2 separate regions of the Homo sapiens genome follow, and region 1 is linked to region 2. Evidence: promoter capture Hi-C in 16 types of primary human blood cells and fetal thymus (Javierre and others, 2016). All regions are on one chromosome and are shown on one strand. The core of a region is centred on a gene start or on the middle of the fragment in contact, and the rest is flanking DNA. Distances in the headings are between cores, read along the strand shown.

Region 1 (3,832 bases), core at 535-3,034, 240 kb after region 2:
TCTTAAAAAATAAAAAGGAAAAGGCTACGTACTATATGATTCCAACTATATGACATTCTGGAAAACTATGGGTTAGGAGAGAGGGAGGGATGAATAGATGGAGCACAGAGGATTTTTAGGGCAGTGAAACTACGCTGTAAGATACTACAATGGTGGATACATGTTGTTATACATTTTTCCAAACCCATTCAATGTACACCAAGGGTGAACTCTAATGTACACTGTGGACTTTGGGTGATAATGATGTGTCAATGGAGGTTCATCAGTTGGAACAAATGTACCACTCTGGTGGGGAAGGCTGATAGTGGGAGCTGTTAGAGTGGGGTGGGAGCTGTTAGAGTGGGGTGGGATCAGGGAGCATCTGGGAACTCTGTATTTCCACTTAATTTTGCTGTGAGGCCAGGCTTGGTGGCTCATGCCTGTGATCCCAGCACTTTGGGAGGCCGAGGTGGGAGGATCGCTTGACCTCAAGAGTTTGAGACCAGCCTGGGCTACATAGTGAGACCTCATCTCTATCATATATATATATTTAAAATTTTTGCTGTGAACCTAAGCATTCAGACTTTCACCATTAAGTATGATGTTATCTATAGGGTTTTTGCTTGTTTGTTTGTGCATGCCTTTTTCAGATTGTGCAAATTCCCTTATCTTCCTAGTTTGCTGAGAGTTTGTTTGTTTGTTTCCCCTTGCCCCACCCCCCGCTGCCCTGCGAGATGGACTTTCACTCTGTCACCCAGGTTGGAGTGCAGTGGCATGATCACAGTTCACTGCAACCTCCACCTCCCAGGTTCAAGCGATTCTCCTGCCCCAGCCTCCCGAGTAGCTGGGATTACAGGTACATGCCACCACGCCTGGCTAAATTTTTGTATTTTTAGTAGAGACGGGGTTTCACCATGTTGGCCAAGCTGGTCTCGAATTCCTGACCTCATGATTCGCCCTCCTCGGCCTCCCAAATTGCTGGGATTACAGGCGTGAGCCACTGTGCCTGGCCTACCGAGAGTTTTTTTTTTTTTTAATAAATTGATGTTGAATTTGTCAAATGCTTTTTCTCCATCAATTGATGTGGTCATGTGGTTTTTATTCTTTTTTAATATAGTGGAATCCGTTGATTGAATTTTTTGTTTGTTTTGTTTTGTTTTTGAGACAGAGTCTCACTCCGTCACCCAGGCTGGAGTGCAATGGTGCGATCTTGGCTCACTGCAACCTCCGCCCCCTGGGTTCAAGCGATTCTCCAGCCTCTGCCTCCTGAGTAGCTGAGATTACAGGCACCCGCCATCATACCTGGCTAGTTTTTGTATTTTTGTAGATGGGGTTTCATCATATTTGCCAAGCTGGTCTTGAACTCCTGACCTCAGGTGATCCACCCGCCTCGGCCTCCCAAAGTGCTGGGATTACATGCATCAGCCACCACACCCGGCCTTGCTGATTAATTTTGAGTATTGAACCAGTCTTGCATTCCAAGAATAAATGCCATGTGATCATTATATACTATTCGGCATGTTGTCTACAAAGAGGGACAGTACTGGAAGTCCTAGCCACTATACTAGGCACAAAAAAAGGACACAGGTTAGAAAGAAAAGAAGAGACTTTTCCCTGTATGAAGACAACATGATGTTTATCTACATAGAAAATCCCAAAGAATCCACAAAATGACATGAAACTAATAAGTGAGTTTAACAAGGTCACTGAATACAAGGCCAACATACAGAGATCAATTCTATTTTTTATACATTAGTAACAAATAATTACAAATAGAAGTTAAAACGATATCATTTATATTATCTCCAAAAATGAAATACTTAGGTATAAATCTAAGAAAACACATATAGAATATGTATGCTGGATAACTATTGAAAAACAGGGGTGGAAAGGATAGCAATGGAGATGGAGTGTGGGCAGAGGGCAGAACCATTTGCTTCACTCTAGGGAAGCACGCTTTACCCTGCATAACCCATGAATACTACTCTGACACTCTGACACTGCTTTTGCTTACCTATTCTTCATCTCTGTGCACATCCTCAGAATGTACACAGTCTTGACTGTTATCTATTTCTGCAATATTGCTGCATATCAAATTACACCAAAATTCAGTGGCTTATAACCATAAGCATGTATTTAGCTCACAAATATGTGGCTCAACAATTTAGACTGAACTCAAATCGGGGAATATCTCTGGTCTTCACTAGGATCACTCTATTGTCTCGGGGTTGGCTAGCTGTCAACTTATCTCAGATGGCGTTGGCTGCTACTGGGGTCACTTGACTGTTCCATATATTTTTCATATATTCACCACATATATTTCATCCTCTGGCAGGCTAGCCTGAGCATGTTCTCATGGTGAGGGCGGAAGAGGAAGAGCAGAAGTGTATACCTGTAAGTGCTTTTTAAAACCTCTGCATGGCGGGGCATGGTGGCTCACGCCTGTAATCCCTGCACTTTGGGAGGCTGAGGCGGGCTGATCACCTGAGGTCAGGAGTTCGAGACCAGCCTGGCCAACATGGCAAAACCCTACTAAAAATACAAAAATTAGCTGGGCATGGTGGCACGCACCTGTAATCCCAGCTACTGGGGAGGCTGAGGCAGGAGAACCGCTTGAACCCAGGAGGCGAAGGTTGTAGTGAACCGAGATCGCACCACAGCACTCCAGCCTGAGTGACACAGCAAGTCTCTGACTCAAAAAAAACCAAAAAACAAACAAACAAAAAACACCTCTGCATGCATCACATCTGCTAACATCCCATTGTCCAAAGAAAGTTACATGGCTAGCCTCAGAATCAAGGGGCACAGAAATATACTCTGTCTCTTCGATCAAAGGAGTTTCAAAGTTACGTGTCAAAGGTACAGATACAGGAGGAGGAGTGAATAATTGGGAACATTAATGCAACCAGTCTACTAAAATCATGGTGCGAGGCTCTAATCTTTGGCACCCTCCCTGGCCGCAATGCATTTTGTGACCTCAGTCTTCATTCTTGCACATCACTTTGATATCATCATTACTCTCCCAGCACATCCTTTCAGGATTAGCTCTAGGGCTGGTCTAAGACACAGATAGATGAATGGGCCACTGATTTGCATTCCAATCTCACAGCTCTAAGCTCTGAAAAGCATCTGGCCCAGGCTAGGCTGGTTTAGTTGAGCCGTGGGTGGGAAATAAGGGCTGTGCTCATGCCTAAGGGTCTGAACTGTTCTCTGTCGCCAAATTGCTGAGCTTTCAAAAGCTGGATGTGACCTTACCTCACTCAGACTTGTTATTTACAGCTGTGTTTCCACTAGTGAGGTCGTTTTGGGGATCTGGAGTCAAAAACCTTCCTCTGTCACTGGAAAATATTTACTGATTTCTAGCTGTGTATCTGACCATGCTAACTTCTTCTTTTTTTCTTTTTTCTTTTTCTTTTCTTCTTTCTTTTTGATGGAGTTTCGCTCTTGTCACCCAGGCTGGAGTACAGTGGTGTGATCTCAACTCACTTCAACCTCTACCTCCAGGGTTCAAGCAATTCTCCTGCCTCAGTCTCCCGAGTAGCTGGGATTACAGGTGCCCACCACCATGCCCAGCTAATTTTTTGTATTTTTAGTAGAGACAGGGTTTCGCCATGTTGGGCAGGCTGGTCTTGAACTCCTGACCTCAGGTGATCTGCCCACCTCAGCCTCCCAAAGTGCTGGAATTACAGGCGTGAGCCACCTTGCCCAGCCTGCTAACTTCTTTTTATATGCTTTAGATCAGTCATCATCTGTATGTTCTCTCTTTCCATCTGAACCAAATTCTTGACTTTCCTCAATCCTATGGCTATGTGATTCCTAAAGTGTCTAAAACAGGCTGGGCACAGTGGTTCAC
Region 2 (4,120 bases), core at 476-2,975:
AAAGTTCCAGCAAGGAGATTCTGTGCAGAGTAACCATTTCATACTGCAGCAATCACTGTGATACCATCAGGACAACAGGGTTCAGCTCCGTGTAGCTTAGCAGGTCATGTCCCCTGGCCCACTTTCATTAAGCATTGAAATAAGGCAGCAGAGCTGGATGACAGCATACCTAGAGACTACTCTGAAATTCTATAAACTAAAAATATATTTTCTGCACTTTGGTCAGGATGAACGGACACTCAGCATTTCCCCTGGAAGCAGGTGCCTGGTTGATGGTGTGGGGCTGACTCAAATTCAGAAATAGCCAATGGCAAGAGAAGGAAGCATGGGGGTGCACAAATAGGTGTGCTAGGAGAGGCCAATCCTCTGTGGCTGGCTGTGATCCTTCCCAGCCTCATCCCGCCTTTGCAGGTACTACAGCAGGGCACCTGCCCCCATGGGGGACATCCATGCCTCCATCCACCTGTGACTTTCACCTGTCCCTCCTCCAGCAGGAATCAAACTGCACTGTCACATGGTCCTCCATGGCACCTGGAAGTAGAGCCAGCTTTGCTCTGTCTCAGCTGAAGTGAGGGACAAAGGCCACTACGGGTCCAGCTCTTCTAGGACCTGCTGTCCCGTGAGCCTCCTTTGCTCTGAGGATCTGGGTCTGGGCTCTTGCTGAGGCTTCTCCTCCAACTCGCCTCAGCTCAGCGTACCTCTCTTGTGTCCAAGGCGGCAGGACCAAGGGATTCAGAGACAAACACACCCCAGTTGGGGCCATCACTATAGCACTAGATCTCTGCCTGTGACCCAGGGAACTCACCTCTTCCTGGGGCCTCAGCCTAAGTCTTCTGCGACTAAGTGGGGAAGCCGAGGCACAGATAAACTGGAGTCTGAAATCGGTGAGCAGTGGTCTCAGGTCTGCACTCTGACCCTGGAAACACAATGACCACAGGAGATTCAATTAGCAACACCTATGCTCCCTTCCATGCAGTGAAGTTGAGTGAAACCCAAAGGTTTTTACCCAACAGAAGAGGGACAACCCCTCATTCTAGTTTTAAGAGTTAACATTCATGCACAGCTCAATTATCCTCAGTGAGCGAAACCCTGCCTTCCTGAGTCCGGGCTTTGGAATCAACTGACTGGCTGCTGTGCCACTTTTATTCACTGAAGAAATGATTGCCTTCCATGAGCCGGTTCTCCGTGTTGCAAATCCATCAGTGAACAAAATCTCAAATTCCCAGCTCCAGATTTCTAGTCTGGAGGAAGAGACACACTGGAAACAATAAACATGATAAACAAAGTACAGGAAAAGAAAAAGAAAAAGGATTCCTCGGGTTTGCTACCTACGGGACTTTGGACAGGTTGCCAAGCCACACTGTACCGTTTTCTCTCTATAACATGAAAATAATCATCGTAACACCTCACAGGGCTCCTGCTAATGTGAAACATTTGCAAGAGTGTCTGGCAGTTACCACCGGGTGAGGATACAAGCGCTGAGTGACTCAATCAATTAGTCACTCGCTGGCCCCGAACCTCGCCCCCAACACTCACGCCCACCGCCTGTGTCACTCAATCCCCACAAGGACGCTCACCCGTGGCCCCATGACCCCACGGCCCCGTAAACTCCCGTCATTCCTCCCGTCCCCCCTTCCCCCGATCAAAACCATCACCACCTCACCCTCCCGCTTACTTCACTGCCGACAGCCTGAAACCTCAGGGGCGGATGACAACAGCCAGTGTGAACGAAGCGCCACCCTCCGGGTCAGCCGAGCATTTCCGCTTCCCACAGCCCCCTGGGAACGTGAAGTCAAAGCAATGCGCACGCGCAGTGGCTTTGAAGGCGGGGCAACAAAGCCTGTGGCCGATGTGGCGCTCCTCGGCCCGCGCTTCAGTGGTTATGACAGTGTTCGCTCTAAGGGGAGAAGGAATGTGTGACCATTTCCAACGGTAAGTCGTACAAAAGGTCCGGGGAGGCGTACCTGGGCGGCGAGAGGCGAGAGAACTCCGCGCGGGCTTTCCAGTGCCCAGGCCCCTGCCGGCTCCGAAGCCGAAATCCCTTCTTCCACTTCGTTCTCTTGCAGTGGACGTGGGGTGTTCCCACCCCTCTGTCCCCAAGGCCACTGTTTCTGTCTTCCGCTCCTAGGAATAGGAAAAAGAGTCGCGCCTCTGGCATCTGTGGCAGCTCCAGAGCGCGGCCCTCTAGGGTCCAGGCAGGCCACATGGAGCGGGGCCCTAGGCCTGGCTCAGAGCGTCCTAAGAGCAACAGGTCTGGCTCAGTCGGGGAAGTGGCCTGGAAGAGGGGCTTTGGAGCCGGGCTTCAGAGCCAGCAACCTCCCGAAGTGAGGGAAGAAAGCCTCATTCTGATTGTTCTCTACCCAGTGGTGGGGCTCCGGTTCCTAGGATCTTAGACACCCTGGGAGAATCTGGATTTTACTTTTTAGCGGAGAGGTGTTTTCTCTGAGAATGCCAGCCAGTGGCAACATGGCCCGCTAAAAAGGCCTGTAGTAAACTTGAGGAAAGTTTTCTGTTTCCTGTCTGGGTCTGGGAGAAAGAGAACAAGTGTTGTTCTCCATGCTTACTATGCCTGCCTGGTCACCAAGCGGGCCTCTTTGGGTCAAGTATGACAGAGTCTCCCTCAGGTACACAGCAAACCCTTCTGTGCTAGAGCCAGCTGGTGCCAGACACTGTTCATAGATGTGTCCAAGACATTTGTGTAATCTATCAGACACGTATTTAATTTCCATTTGAACATGAGTGTTTTTCCTCTTTCTCTTTCTCCTCTCAGGTTAACTTGCATTCCCCAGATAGTTTGGATGAGTTACAACCTAAATCTGCAAACTCAATACAGCCAGACCCTGGGAAGTGACTCTCTCCAAGCCTCCTGTACAAGTCCCAGGAAAAGAGCCTGTTTTCCCTTGGACATGTGAGCAGTGAATTACTGCTCATTCAGAATTTCATGTGTATGTGTTACTGATGGCCAGGTTTAGAGATACCAACCTATTTATTTCTAGAGGAGAGGTGATTTGATAACCTTTTCAGATATCACTATCAGTAGGCAGAAAAGGGTTAATAGTATGATAGGGTTAATATGTCCTGAGGAGAGTAAAGAAATTGCAAACTGCAGAAGCACCTGATCTGTGGCCCTGGCCAGCATCTCTCCATATCCTGATTCTGTAAGATCAAGTGTTTATGCAGAAAGAGAAGGGACTGATGATTTGAATGTGACCAGATGCAGGGCATGCCCTTATTGCCATGCCAGCATTTGCTATTCATGATGTTAGTATTCAAAAATCAAGAAACACCCTTCCTGGGCCATTGGTGTCTACTAATCCATTGGAAGAAAAGACTGGAATCCACCACTTACTAGCTTCTTGGGCCTCAGTCCCCTCTTTTCTGCCATAGCTAAGGACCACCTAACCTAGATGGCTGTTGTTATTGTTCAAAGGGACATCTTTAGAGCCTCAAGCCCAGGAATAGCCCGTGGCAGGCACCTGGTAAATGTTAGTTTTCATTGTCCTATCCCAACACTATGAAACATGCAGCACTCTCTGCAACTGCCCCTGTGGATTTCCATAGGCAGGAGAGTATCCAGTGTTGAGTGGAGCTGGTATTCTCAGAAACGAAGCCCCTTTCCTCATTTTGCGCCAATCTCTTCAGTCATTTTTACCCTAGTAGTATAATGCTTTGTCAAAGTCACTGTCATCTGATGTTAACAGTTGTTTTCGCCAGATGACTTTTCAAAAGGTAACTTCACCATAATACCGGTTAATGTGATAAAAACACTGCATGTAGCCAATTTTTTTTTTTTTTGAGATGGAGTTATTGGCTCTTGTTGCCCAGGCTAGAGTGCAGCGGCGTGATCTTGGCTCACTGCAACCTCCATCTCGTGGGTTCAGGTAATTCTCCTGCCTCAGCCTCCCGAGTGGCTGGGATTACAGGCACACGCCACCATGCCCAGCTAATTTTTTTGTATTTTTAGTAGAGTCGGGGTTTCACTATATGTTGGCCAGGCTGGTCTCGAACTCCTGACCTCAGGTGATCCGCCTGCCTCAGCCTTCCAAAGTGCTGGGGTTACAGGTGTGAGCCACTGCACCCAGCCAAATATTTTCTTATTTATTTATTTATTTTAGAGACA

Evidence for each region. Contacts are between HindIII fragments. The CHiCAGO score rates a contact against its expected background, and 5 or more counts as called.
Region 1: a fragment that was not itself captured here is called in contact with the fragment with the promoter of ZNF674 in region 2 in 1 of 17 cell types (M2 macrophages); the score reaches 5.4 in M2 macrophages.

What each region holds. Positions count from the first base shown.
Region 1 is chrX:46,785,988-46,789,819 of GRCh38, forward strand. No RefSeq gene overlaps it. Among named protein-coding and RNA genes, the nearest start is that of SLC9A7, 29 kb to the left of the region's middle. The HindIII fragment of the contact is 5,433 bases long and covers 1-3,832 here.
Region 2 is chrX:46,543,696-46,547,815 of GRCh38, forward strand. ZNF674 (zinc finger protein 674) reads right to left here and starts at 1,726. Exons shown (of 6, transcript NM_001190417.2): 1 at 1,676-1,726; 2 at 806-916. It overlaps ZNF674-AS1 (ZNF674 antisense RNA 1), which reads left to right and starts at 1,795. Exons shown (of 2, transcript NR_015378.3): 1 at 1,795-1,932; 2 at 2,771-4,120. RefSeq lists enhancers at 1,100-2,299, 1,915-2,064. The HindIII fragment of the contact is 22,375 bases long and covers 1-4,120 here.